2 separate regions of the Homo sapiens genome follow, and region 2 is linked to region 1. The links are contacts of gene promoters, found by promoter capture Hi-C in blood cells and fetal thymus (Javierre and others, 2016). All regions are on one chromosome and are shown on one strand. The core of a region is centred on a gene start or on the middle of the fragment in contact, and the rest is flanking DNA. Distances in the headings are between cores, read along the strand shown. Region 1 holds the start of TDRD6 (tudor domain containing 6). Region 2 overlaps ADGRF1 (adhesion G protein-coupled receptor F1).

Evidence for each region. The method cuts DNA at HindIII sites, captures the fragments that hold promoters and counts their contacts. A CHiCAGO score of 5 or more calls a contact.
Region 2: a fragment that was not itself captured here is called in contact with the fragment with the promoter of TDRD6 in region 1 in 1 of 17 cell types (M2 macrophages); the score reaches 5.9 in M2 macrophages.

What each region holds. Positions count from the first base shown.
Region 1 is chr6:46,683,609-46,690,774 of GRCh38, reverse strand. It overlaps TDRD6 (tudor domain containing 6), which reads right to left and starts at 2,890. Exons shown (of 4, transcript NM_001010870.3): 1 at 1-2,890. The coding sequence starts at 2,646. It overlaps TDRD6-AS1 (TDRD6 and SLC25A27 antisense RNA 1), which reads left to right and starts at 2,610. Exons shown (of 2, transcript NR_134643.1): 1 at 2,610-2,841. The HindIII fragment of the contact is 3,266 bases long and covers 485-3,750 here.
Region 2 is chr6:46,995,690-47,002,855 of GRCh38, reverse strand. It overlaps ADGRF1 (adhesion G protein-coupled receptor F1), which reads left to right. Exons shown (of 15, transcript NM_153840.4): 14 at 1,289-1,355; 15 at 2,561-5,148. The coding sequence ends at 2,634. Among named protein-coding and RNA genes, the nearest start is that of ADGRF1, 43 kb to the left of the region's middle. The HindIII fragment of the contact is 4,098 bases long and covers 900-4,997 here.

The sequences.
Region 1 (7,166 bases), core at 1,641-4,140:
GCACCTAAAAGCCTGTGCCTTAACCTTCAGAAATTCTTCACTAATTGAATAAATATTCTTCACAGATACCATTTCTCTGTCTCCATAATCTACAAATGTTACATTGACATGCTCCACAGACTGTATCCCACTAATAAGTGCTCTGGACCACTGTCTGTTTACTGTTCGCTTAGCCAAACAAGCAAGGGTGTTTCTCTGGTGAGGAGCAGCTGTATTTTTGCAATAGTACTGAATATCAGACATTAGAGTTTTAAGTCCTTGTATGTTCCTGGTCAGCTGACACCAGAAATAGCCAGGGTTTTCAACATAAGACACTCTGACTTCTACTGTACTTCCAACTTCCAGCTCTCCTTTACTAGAGGAGCCTGGCTTAATTTCCAAGCAATTCTGCATAAGAGGAAAATAAACAGATGCTCTTTTCACTTTTTCCTGCACAACTAGTTCAGTTGAACCATTTGTTACAACTGTTGTGTCACTCAAAGCTTTTGAAACAGATGTGGTTTTATTCTCTCTCTTGGCTTTCTGCTCTCCTTCTCCAGTCTTGGCAAAAGGTATTTTGTTACTCTCCGTAGTAAAGTGGTTTGAAACATGCCCTGGGGAGTGGGCATTTACCAGGATATTTTCCTTTGTTTCAAATTCCTGATACTTGGCATATCCAGCTTGGGCAATTACCTTACTAATGTTTTCTTCCCCTGTTCTTGATTCGTCAAGAATCTCAATAACATATTGATGATCCTGTTTATCAAGAATATGGATGACTAATTCTTTGTGGAGCACAGTCTTTTTAAAAAAGGAAACTGCCTCCTGGCTCCAAGTTTTTCCCAAAGGCCAAATATCAGCCAGGGTGCACTTCACAGCCAATATTGGTAGCTGCCTAAACTGAGGAAGCAGCATCCTTACGTCATACCAGTCCACATTTTCCGAATTGCCTCGGTCAACTAAGAATACATCCACACTCTTGTCATCCAATTTGGTGACTATGGCCCTATAATAACCATTTTCTTTCCACTTGACACAGCAAAGGTCATCAGGTTCAGGTTTCAAAACTACACCATCCAGCTTACTGGCAGAGGAATAGAAACCACACATTCTCCTCATCAGCTTACTGAAGGTGACATTGTGTTTCCTCAACCTAATCCAAAACTCAGAAGGATTTTTAACAAACTCTACCTGCGCATCGTAGAAGGCATTCATCTTTAACCTGATAGATCTTAAGGCTGGGAGTGAAATCTCTTCATCTACTTCTTCAGCAGGAGACTGAGACTGAGATGTTTCTGGTTCCTCCTCCTCTGTTGCCTGGCTCTGAAGGACTCGGTCAGCCAAGCAACACGACTGTACTCCAAACACACGGTTCAGATTAATCCCATCTTCTCCATACAGGCTGACATAATACACATGCTCAAAGGAGCAATAAAATTCAATCTTTGCATTCACTGCCTTGCCTAGTATCAGTGTCTTCAGGTCACCGACCTGTGACCGAGACCAGCCTCTCCCACCGTCCCAGAGTCCATACAAAGCACAAGGGTAGGTCACCACCGGCATTCGAAAATATTCAGGCAGCAAGTACCGAAGGCTGCTGCAACTCACTAACTCCTTCCTTCCATAGTCCACATGAAGCACCTGGGCACAGCGCTGGGGCCGAAAAGTCTCAAGCAACAGTGCTCTGTACCAATGTCCATCCAGGCCACAGGATGCACACGGAGAGCCCGGCTTATCTGGGCTCTCCTCCCTCTCCTCCCAGGTGGCACTGGTAGAGTTCTCATCCCCTGTCCCCGTGGAACCCCGGTATACCTGGGCCATGCTCTCGGAGAGGCGGTGGATCTCCTGCGAGACGCTGCGGAGCTGGCAGTGAATGCGGTGGGGATGGCACACTTGGGTTATGACCACGGCCTCCGTCACGCCCAGCTGCAGCTGGGGATAGAAGTAATCCAGACCAGGCTGCTTTTGCTTGAGCGGGACTCGCGAGAGAACCGGGACCCCGGAGCCCACGCTAGCAGTGGCCGCTGTGAGATAGCGCTCCAGCAGCGAACGGAAGAGGCTGTCGGGCACCCGCCGAGCCAGGCCCAGCTCCCGCATCTGTTGGAACACATCAGGCACCTCCAGGAGGACCAGGCGATGGAGCAGCAGCACGTCCAGGACGCACCCGTGCACCTCCTTGCCCTGAAGGTTGCTAAGGAAGTCCACGGCGTCGGCGGGCCAGTGCTGCGGCGGCTCGCCTGAGCCCGCGCCGCAGCCTGCCGGCACCAGGCCCGCTAGCACGCAGCCCAGCACTTCCGAGGGCAAATTGAAGAACTCTCTGCGCCCAGGCGCCAGCGAGCCTGCTCCGGCCGTGATGGTGCGGCCCTCGTCCAGCAGGAAGACACGGCTCTCCTGTGCCTGCCGGCTGACCACGCGGCAGCGGTGCCACAAAAGCCCGACCTGCACCAGGCACAGCTCGCCGGGCGAGGCCGAGGCGCTGCCCAGCGCCCACTGGCCGCGCGTGGCCGCCGCTTCCTGGATTTCCCGGCTCAGCCGCAGGTACTCGCCCCGCCGCTCGCCCACCAGCCCCCACAGCTGCACCGGGATCACATCGGGATGCACGTCCACGAAGGACACCCGCAGGGCCAGCGAGGCCCCCGGCGCCGGCATTCCGGGCGTCGAGCACATCTTGACGGCGCGGCGCGGCCCCCACTTCCGGAAATTAAGGGCCGCGCCTCAGGGCCTCGAAATCCTCCGCGCCGCCTGAAGGCGAGTCCCAGCCAAACTAGGTTCAAAGGACCCAGTGGAGGGGAAGAATGCCGGCGAGGCCTTTTCTCGGCAACTCCCCCGTCGAGGGTCCTCCGGGACTCCCGCCACGGACTGGTAAGACCCGGTAGCCCCTCCAACCGCCCGAGGTCGCGCTTCCGGGCACGCATTTACCTCACTCGGCGCCGCCACTTCCGGCCGCGGAGAGTGGGCGGGGCCAGCCGAGGCCTGGGGTTGGCCTAACGCCTAAGGGCCCAAGGAGCTTGTTGGGACGTTCAGGAGACCCCGAGGTGGGAGGTTTTGGACACAACCTGCATCTCCTCAGAGCGCCTTCGACTCTGGAGGCCGCCGTGTGACGGCCTGACACAGGGCTGCGGTGAGGACCGACCAGAGAGGGATTTCCTTTTCGTCCTCCCAACTACCAGGGATTGAGCACTGGGGGCCAGGCAAGGTACTAGCCAGTGGCGTTCCCGACGGGAACGAGAAACGCAGGAGCCAATGGCACGTTCCTAGGCGTTAAGGCCGGAACTCTAGGAGGGCCCTGGGTGCTGCTGCGGGGCACGGGTGCTCCTGCTGGCTCAGTGTGTCCGTGGACAGCCAGGTGCTCAGCCTCTATTCTTTAACCCTGTTCCATCATCTGAATTGATAAGAGTTGTTATGAGGTTAAAATAACGTGTGAAAGTATATAGCAACTGGTACATATTTCCCTTCCCACACTTAGCTGATACGGGTTCCTTTGCTCCTTTGCTGTCTAACTCTGGCATCCCAATTTTGAAGGCATTTTCATTTACTCACAGAGCTAGCACAGAACTGGATTCATAAAAGGAGGCCAAGAGGAATGGAATCAACATTCCTTCAAGCCCCTGCTGTATATACTAAAATCTTAACAGGATAACCCTTTGAGGCCTCTGTTAAATGTCCAAACCTCCATTTGGAATGGAAAAGTGCAGGCAAACTAGAAGTTTCCAGGATATGTCTACATTAGATTTTTGTTCATTTGCAAAGTTAGACACATCCGTGGAAGCTTCTTATAGTCTGCCTGTACTTTTCCTTTCATTCCACGTTTCGAAATGTCATTACATACAAATACAACAAGGCAGTGCTTCAAATGACCCTGGCCTAACTGTAAATCTCAGTGTCTTCAGTCTGTCCAGATTAGAGGCAACCATGTGCTTCCACATCACCCTATGCTTACTTTTTCACGGCACTTTTCACATTGTGTGGCAACTGTCTGATCTCTATCATCCCACCAGCCGACAGGTTCCCTTTGGCAAGTACCGTTTGTTGGATTCTCGGAATCTAGCTTGGAGTGAAGGCAATGAATATTTGCTAAATGAATATGAATGAATGAATGAATGAATCCAATTTCTCTAAAAGCCAAAGCTTTTCTTTTCCTGAAGAACTCATCCTTGAAAACTCAATTTTCCCATTTTTTTTCTAATTGTTTCATATTCATTATGGAAGAAAAACATTTTATTTAAAAACATCTAGCAAGACCTAGCTCAAACGTCGTTTCCTCGTGACCCTACTATTCAACCTGGCAGAATTGGTTATTCCTTTTTTTTTTTTTTTTTACATACTTCTATATTATTATATTTTGTAGCTCTCTGTTTGCCACAGTAGGAACATCTTAAAAGCAGGAACACTTCTCATTTATTTTTATGTTCTCGATGCCTAGCCAGTGCTGGACTGTTAGCATCCAGTAAATCTTAACAAGAGTAAGCAATCTAACACTATGGCCTTTACAGTGGAAAGAAGGAATTCATTATAAAATGGTCTTATGATCACTTGAAATTGTTTTATCATTACATGGAATAATGGAGACTTTAATCCATCATCTATTTCAGGTTCATGTAGTATAACCAAACTCCTTTGTAGACCACAGGGTTGTAGATATTATGACTTTCTGTATTTCATTTGTCCTCCAACCTCCTTCCATGGCTCATGGCCTTAATCCTAGGACGTCAGGGTATATCACGTGGCCGTTATGGGCTGATCTGAATCCTTTACCCCCATCCACCCAGATTTTCCAATGTCCTACCTTTTCTGTATCTGGAGCAGGTAGCATTAGTTTGTTCTGTCATGCTCTGCTGTTGGACAGGGACTCGGGTTAATTTTAAAAATCAGGTCATTGCACTGTTAAGATTAAGCTCCCCTCATATATCTCCCATACTATATTAAACAAAATATCTTGAGTTTTATAATAAATAAACTTTCCTCCCATTAGTCTTGAGAGGCCCTTGGTTTCGGAAAAGAAGGGAGAGGGGATTTTTTTTTTATTATTATTGTACTTTAAGTTCTGGGACATTATGTACAGAACGTGCAGATTTGTTACATAGGTATACACATGCCATGGTGGTTTGCTGCACCCATCAACCCATCATCTACATTAGGTATTTCTCCTAATGCTATCCCTCCCCTATCCTTCCACCCCTTGACAGGCCCCGGTATGTGAAGTTTGGGAGAGAGGATATTCTTATCCTAATACAAATACGTAAGGGATAAAGGGGGAAAGGTTAAGGCCAGGGATGGAATGTGTATGACAGGTGTTTGAATACTAATATTATGAGCCACTTCAATATTTTTTATGGAAACGATGCAGGAAAATTGGGCTAAATAAATCATACTTATTTTGTGCTGTCTTAGGCCTCTGTGTATAGAGAACTCTAAGCAGAAATGCAGTATACTTTACAGTCTATAGTTTCTATACTACTAATTGACTTTGTTTAAAGTTGCTTAGAAAAATTAACATTTACTGGATATTTTTAGAAAACAGTTCAAGTAAGAAATACCCTGTTAGGAGAATGAAAAAGACAAGCTACAGACAGGGAGAAAATATTTGCAAACCACACGTCTGACATAGGACTTGTATCTATAATAGATAAACGACTCTCGAAACTCAATAGTAAAAAAAATAAATTTGAAAATAGGCAAAAGATATGAAGTGGCATTTCACGGAGGAGGATGTACAGATGACAAAGAAGAATATGAAAAGATTTTCAACATCATTAGCTATTAGACAAAAAAAAAAAAAAACCCACAATGTTATATCACCACATGCCATGGTAATGACTAAGCTAAAAAATCGTGATAACACCAGTACTGGCAAGAATGTGAATAAACTGCATCACTTATGTTGCTGGTAAGAATGTAAAATGGTACAGCCACATTTTAAAAACTATGTACTTGCCATATGACTGAAAAATTGCATTTAGGCATTTATCCCAAAGAAAGGAAACATGCTCATGCAAAAACCTGGAACCCAAAACTGGAAACAACCTAAATGCCCTTCGATGGGTAAATGGTTAAACAAACTGTGGTACATCAATACCAAAGGGTCCTACACAGCAATAACAAGGAAAATGAATTATTGATGTGAGCAACAACTTAGGAAGGTTCTCCGTAGAATTTTACTGAGTGAAAAAAAAATAGTAAAAGGTTACATACTGCATTCTATTTACATAATATTCTTAGATTAATAAAATTATAGAGATGGAGAAAAGATTAGTGGCTTCCAGGAGTTAGGGATGGGGAAGAAAAGGGTTGAAAATGCCTATAAAGGGATAGCATCAGGCATGGACTGATGAACTGTTCTGTATCTTGTGTGCAGTGATAGTTATCAAAGCTACACAAAGGTGATGAAATTGCATGGAATGACACACACACACACACACACACACACACAAATGTGTGCTTATAAATTAGTGACTTTGGAATCTGTGGATTGTACCAATGTCAATTTGCTCCTGGTTTTGATTGTGTACAACAGTCATGGTATATCCCTATACGTTTTTCTTTGGAAACTTTATGAAAATCTAAAATTATTTCAAAATAAAAAGCTTTTAAAAATTTAAGATTTCAGTGTCACAAAATACAATTTTATTAGAATACACACACAGACAATTCAAGACCAGATCATTATAGGGGGCAATGAGAGTAGAGAGAGCATAGTCTTTTGAATTACAGCAGGATTGGCCTCCATTTGTAAGAGCCATGTGACCCAGGCAAATAATTTACCCTCTGTTTCCATATCTGAAAATGGATATAACGGCATACACCTTACACTTTGGTTCCAAGGACTGCATGAATTAATGTAAATACAGTTAACATGTTTGCATTAAATAAATACTTGAGATGCAGCAAAACATAGTGGGAAAGGAAGGGCTTTAGATTTTGAAAGTCCATGTTTATCATCTCAGGGTGACATGGATAATAAAATTTTCAGAGTTAGGTTCTCTTCATCTATAAAAATGGAACTATACTTAAATATGAAGACGAAATGAGCCAATATGGGTAAAAGACCCACCACAGGAAACATGTAATAAGTTGTAGTTATTAGTGATATGAATGAAATTAAAACTTAAAAAATATGTTCTCTCCTAGGATTCTTAAAGATTAAAAATCTTAAATTAGGTTTTTTAAAAATTTGGTCTATTTAGGCA
Region 2 (7,166 bases), core at 1,699-4,198, 310 kb before region 1:
TCCTTCAAGCCACAGCACACTGTATGGACCCCAAATCTTCTCCATGCTCAGGCCCCTGTCTTGACCCTCCATTGTCCCTAGGCATGTTCTCTGTAACTCTTCTCCAAGTCACAGACTCTGGTGGCCTCAATGGACCCCCCTCCACAAAGAATAGATTTACAGACCTACATCTGAGTTCCAGTAACTCACGGCCTGTTATTTGGCTAAGTGTTTCGACCCATATAACTTCACACACCTGAAGAGGCTACTTCTTCCCAGACCACAAGGAAGTATATTGAGTATGTTACAACCTAAAATTCCTATCTCCAAATGGTACAGGATGCAATTTTAAGTGCCATGATCCCTGACCTTATGATTTTTTTAAAGGTTTATAGCATTAAATGTTTGCTGAGCCCTGAATTCTAGAAAATTAATTATTTTGCTTTGAAAGTTTCAAATATTTTTAATTCTTATTTTTGTAGCTTTTTTTTTTCAGAACTCAGTGTGCCTTAATACCAGTGAAAATTGAAAAACTATCACTGGTCTATCTACTGAATATAATAAGAACATGTTTTTCCCACCTTGGTTTGGTTTCCTTGTGGCATAGACTGTAGCAAGGAATGGAAGTTTTCCTTCCAATATTCCCAGTGCCAGAACAGCATCTGGCACACAAAGGCATTCAATATGAGATGGTAAATTAATGGACAAATGAATGATGAACTAATGAGTAGAAAAATATATAATGTATGTAAACACATTTATCTTTCCTGATAAGTACATGCTCTTTGTTTCAAATATTTTATTTAATTTTATAATTCAGCTGTTAAATTATTGAACTCTATATAGCCTCTGTAGCAATGACCAAAGCGTCATTCAAAAGTAGGTTTGAGAGCTAAGATGAGCAAGAGTAAAGCAAAGCTTTGTTGAGAATCATTTTTAGTCAGAGCACTGTTTTTCCTCCATTTTCCTCCATGGGTTTCTCTTCCAGTAACAAATGTGATCCAAAGAAATGTAAGCATAGACATGAAAAGGGATAATGCCGCCTTTAAAACTGTTTTCTAGTTTGTTGTTAGAAGTTATAAAAATACACAGGAACACAGCATTCACTTGAAAATAAATTTTTAGGCATTTTAAATAGATTAAAGCAGAAGAAAGAGTGAGAAAGTAACCATTCTAAATTCTTAAAAAGAGAATAGCACCTATGAAAATGAAATAAAGAATCATGAATAACATCAGGAAGTCAGGAAATGCAGACCAACAGTAAAAGAATGCTATTAATGTCCAAATGACTTATTTTTATTTTGTGCAGCAAAACTCATCAGATTTATCTGCCAAACCCAAATTCTCAAAGCCTTTCAACCCACTGCAAAACAAAGGTGAGTTACAATAAAACCAAAGGTTATAAAAGGTGTGAAAAGAGTATATGAGTATATCATATGAATAAAATTCAATGGCAACATGTAAGAAACTCATGTGAGAAGTGTGGGATTATCAGCCAGCCATGTTTTCAGAGTTCATCCAGACCGTGCTCAGGGCTGACAGAACAATGTAGGTGACTTGATGCTCATGGAGAACCAGAGAGTGTCTTTATGTAATGTCATCACAAATTATCTCTATTTCCCAAGTTTGACATTAGATAAATCTGTGGCATTGATCATTGAGGCCTTGAAGGGAAGGAGTGTGGTTAGACTAACACGATTTATGTCCTTATTGGAGAATCACCCCTTTGTGCCAGCTGCCAAGCAGTGGGCACGCGGCCAGGTGCTTGTGCCCTGATGTTGCACATGTCCTCCTCCCTAAAATGCCCCTGGGCAGGAAGGGGCCACACCTGCTAAGAGTGAAAGAGCACTGTCTCCTCCACCTGTGACATGCACTGGCCCTATGTTCATTGATTGGCGGTTACTAAAGTCTGTGCTATTGAGCAACTGCAAGACCAGTGTTTAAACATTGCAAGTAGCCACAGCATTCTTGGAGGAGAGAGAAGGTTGGAACATGGAAGTGGAGGAGGAGACATTGCCTTACAAGCTAAGTTGAAACCATGCTTAAGAGTTAAAGTCCCATTTCACATTCAGTTATGTTAATGTCATCATTAATGTAGGAAACTCATTTTATATTCCCATTGAAATTATTCAAATTCCAGATAAAGTTCAAGTGTCTGGAGAATGTGCTTGTCCCGGACCCTTGGGTTCTGTTGTTATTGCCACCAGTCAGCTTGAGCGCTTTTTTACAAGTCTCTACCTTTTGGGGACATTTGTTCCTCATCTATAAAATAAAAAGCTAAGAGATTACTAAGATTCTTCCAGCAATAACATATTGTGATCTCAATCTACTTTATGTCATTTCCCAGCAATATTTGAAAAACATGATATTTCTCAAATAAGTGATACTTGACAAATGCAAGCCTCTGGGGTGTTGGTGAAATGCTATTTCTCTCCACCAACCACAGTCTTTTTGTCTTTACCTAGAATCTTTTAAAAACTGTTCCTAGTTGTGAAATAATCTACAGGCTAATTTTCATTTTGGTCTCATGCTTGATTTCAACAGAGTAACAATAATTATTTCCTTTTTTTTTCCCCTTCAGGCCATTATGCATTTTCTCATACTGGAGATTCCTCCGACAACATCATGCTAACTCAGTTTGTCTCAAATGAATAAGGCAAGGAATCATAAAATCAAGAAAAAATTTCCAGAACAACTTGACATTTAGAGACAAATGTCAATGAAGAAATTATGCTCAGTATTCGATCGGGTTTTCTGATTTAGGGGTCTGGGAATAAAACAAGAATGTCTCAGTGGCTTCATTACTGCTCCCTTTTGTCTTCAATTAAATGAAAAGAAGATTTATTTCCATGTGATTTGATTCAAAGAAAGTGCTCCATAAATGCAGAAGAGTAGGTTTTGTTGGAAATCGTGTCAGTTGTACCCTGACCATAAAATATGGTTTCTATTTTCATAAAACAGCATTATTCACATGGCATTTCCAATAATCTGGATTGAAGGAAGAAAATTTTATGAAATAGCTTTAGATAAATTAATAGGCCACGTTCATTTTCTTGTCAAAAAGTTACTGGTGGGGGGATGGTGGGAAAAAGTTATTAGTGCAAATTTCCTAGAGAAAAAACCATTTCTCTTTCAAATTTTCCAGTTGAATTTTATGTTCGCTTTTGCTTCTTAGGTTCTATCACTTAATATTGAAAGTTAATCAGAAATAAAATGTAAACTTCTATTTCAGATAGCTTTGTAACCATTTATCAGAAAGTATAATAATGTGATATGATATATAATGTGGTATTTTTCAGTTTACAAGGCACTTCCATCTGGTCCTAAACCCTGCAAACAAAAGTGTCAAGGCAGACCTAGTGCAGAGATGAGGGCATGGGGGCTCAGAGAGGTAAAGTGACTTGCCAAAGATTGTGAAGCCAGTTAAGGGAAATTGGGGATTTTTAGGACATTTGTCTCCCAGACCATTTCTACAGCCAATAAAAGCCTTGAAAATTACCTACATCTCTAGTAAATCTTTCTGAGGTCAGTTACACAGTTCACCATTCCCAGAATTCTATGTAAGAGAGAAATTAAGGGAGAATTTGGTTGTCAGCTTCCAGGGAGGTACCTTAAAACATCCTTATTTTCTTTCATAATACACCATAGGCACTTTGTGGAAGTTATTTTCTTGTACAGCCAGTGCCACTTTTGGATGACATACAAAGCAGCAGGAGTTGACGCTATGTGAAGCAACACTTCTCTTCCATACTTCCATCACATTTGGCTCACCTACCTGAGTTTCAGCCGTGACCATAGTGCCCAGAGGAACCCGAGCCTTTGATTCATCCTTGCTGTTTTGAGAGGCCTAGGGAGTGTCTCTTAGCCTCCTGACATGGAAAGCCTTCATGCTATGCAAATAAAGACAGCTGGGGGAACTTCTAGTTAGTGGTGGTAGATTAAATAAGCATACCTGAGAGAAATTCAAAGTTAGACTTCCACAAGGCACCAAGGTGCAGCACACATGAAATATGAAAGTGAGAGGTTCAAAGGAAATGACTGAGGATCAGTTAGATGGTTCTATACCCCACAAATATGTATGAGAGTCAACAGAATTTTATGAGAAAGACTTCTTTGCAGAAAACTGCTCTATGAGCCTTCTCACTCTACCTACCCACAAAAGTGAGAGAAGGAGGAATGTCTGCTCCTTGACCTCAAATTTAGTGAGAGAAGATTTCTCAGATAGCTCAGATAGCTCAGATTTCTCAGAACCACAACAATTAGGATGCATGGCTGATGGAAGTCTGATTCTTGCCTAGAATTGTGGCCACAGCTCCGGTAGTAGAGCCCTGAATGAGTTCTGTGTTGAGAATAGCCTGTATGTCTAGTGTTTGTCAGGGCAATGGATGTGTGTGTTTCCCATGAACCATAGTGAGACATGCAAGAGTGAAGGTCAGCATGGGGCTCTTTTAGGTCCTCTCTGATAGGGTTGTCCAAAGAGGTGGAGGGAACCCAGCATCAAGAAGTGGGAGGTGAAGCCAGATTGTGGGATGAGGAAGGAGTCACAAATGACCACCTGGAATACAAAAAAATCTACACAAGCTAAAGATGAGAAGTCAGGGCTATGAGAATTTCTATGGGAGTTCTTGAATGCTCCCTCTCTTATTACACACAATTACTATCCAGAGAACCCTGACACCATGTGAAGGCAGCCCTATCTCATAAGACAGATTTCTTTTTTTGGGGACCTTGGGGAAAGGGAGGCCAGAAACCTCCGTGTCCAAGGTGGGGTGGAAGGAGAGGGAGAAATCTTAGCAAAAATGTCAACCAGCAAGGGAAGATGTGCTAGCGCAAGTAGGCAACTCAACACAAGACTCAGTTGGAGAGGGAAGAAAAATTTAGTACTAAATTATTGTAGTTTCTTCTTATTGTAGGCGACTGGGAGTCATAATTACCAAACTATTTAAAATGACCAAAATGTTGCTCTTACCTGAGTATGTTGGCATACAACTGGAATGTATCTGATGGAAGAAAAAGCTTCTCCCACTGAATAAATTTTATGAGGATGATGAGAGACAAAAAAATGTTTGATCAGATATCATGTATGTGCATGCTTGTCTAATTCACTGATTATGCATACATTCACCTCAAAATGCTACTAAAACAACAATAAAATAATGAAAAAGTGAATAGCATTGTAATAATTTTCTATTGCTGTGTTTTCTATTATAATAGTTTATTCCATTTCTGTTATGATAGTTTTTTATTGCTGCATATAAAATTGCTGCAAACTCAGCAGCTTAAAGCAACACACATTTATTATCTCAAAGTGGTCATGGGTGGATTCCATGCACAGCTAAGCTTGTACTTTGCTCAGGGTTACACAAGGCTGTCATCAAGGTACTGGATGGACTGTCATGTCATCTGGAGGTGCAGGTGGGGAAGAATTCACTTCTGACTCATTCAGGTTGTTGGCAGAATTTGTCCCCTTGTGGTTGTGGGAATGAGAATGGTGGCTTTTTGCTGACTATTGGCTAGAGTTCATCCTCAGACCCTAGAGGCCACCCCTATTTTTTTCACCACATGGGCTTTTCCAACTTGGCCACTTACAACATTAAGCCTGCAAGGACAGTCTCTAACTCCAGTCTGCTTTTAAGAGAGAGTCTTGTTTAATGTAAGATAATTAGGAGAGTGACAACCCATAACTTTTGCCATATTTCACAGGTTAGAACCAAGTCACAGGCCCTGGCCACAATCGAGAGGAGGGCATTTCAAAAGGTGTGAATGCCAGGAGGGAGGGATCACTGGAGGTCACAGACATGAAATTCCAAAGATTGGGAACAAGAGAGGAGATAACAGCAACACACCTTTGGAAAGCAGGTGGGGTGGTGTGAACTGACTTAGAAGACCTGAGAAAGTTAAATATTAAGCCAGTGGTGGGGAAAAACAAGAAGCAACCTACTTTACACTGCAGAATCCCCCAAGAGACTTAAGACTTTGCAGCACCAGGTACCTTAAGAATTTGGATGAATATGGGACTGAATAGTAGATTTGGTTGGTTCAAGTTCAATTTAGGAAGCATCTGGTCCCCCAGGTACCTCTCTAATCCCAAGTAGCCAAGCAAATGTCCTTTCCTTCATCCTACTAATAGATTATATGGAGATGTGGAAAAAGATGGGATATTGGGACTGAGAGACAGCAGAATCAGTTGGGAGAGGTTTTCCCATCCTGAAAACAAAAGGTTTAGTGAAAGTTGACATATAACAATGGCAGCAAGTCTTACATTTTTAAGGCAAGAGTCTTGTATGAGTCCATTCTCATGCTGCTGATAAACACATACCTAAGACTGGGTAATTTATTTTAAAAAAAGGTTTAATGGGCCCACAGTTCCACATGGCTGGGGAAGCCTCACAATCATGGTGGAAGACAAAGGAGGAGTAAAGGGACTTCTTACATGGCAGCGGGCAAGAAAGGGAGTGAAAACGATATGAAAGGGGTTTCCCCTTGTAAAACCACCAAATCTTTTGAGACTTATTTACTACCATGAGAACAGAATGGGTAAAACTGGCTCCATCATTCAATTATCTCCCACTGGGTCCCTCCCACAACACGTGGGAATTATGGGAGCTACAATTTAAGATGAGATTTGGGTGGGGACACAGCCGACCCAAGTCAAGTCTGAACAGGCATCTCTGGAGAATCTGATTATAACAGGAGGAAACATTGAAGATACTGACTTTGAATATTTACTAAGGAATTATTTTTCCAGATAATCACCCTACAGGAAGGCCAAGAGTCCTCATACACAGACAATCCAACCATCAAATCAGCTTTATAGTGTCTCAGTCTGAAATATAAGCAAACAGCCTAGGATCATTAAGTACTTTACAAAAGCTTCCAGTATCAAATGCAGAGGCCAAAAAGAAAAAATAAAAGGCAGGGAGAGGCAATGCAGTCTCACCTTTAGTCCTGTGATATAAGCTCACCTAGAGCAATGAAGAAACAAACATAGAAATACACATTAGGAGAGAAAATCATACTAGAAGGCAGGAGACCTAAAAGACAATCAGTTTTATCCTCAAGTAGGATATTGCCTCTATAAAGTGAGTGCTATAACAAGGAATACACAGACAACAAAAAGATATCTCTGAAATCTAAAACATCGTTAATAAAATGCTTCAATAGAAGGATTGGAAGATAAAGTTTAG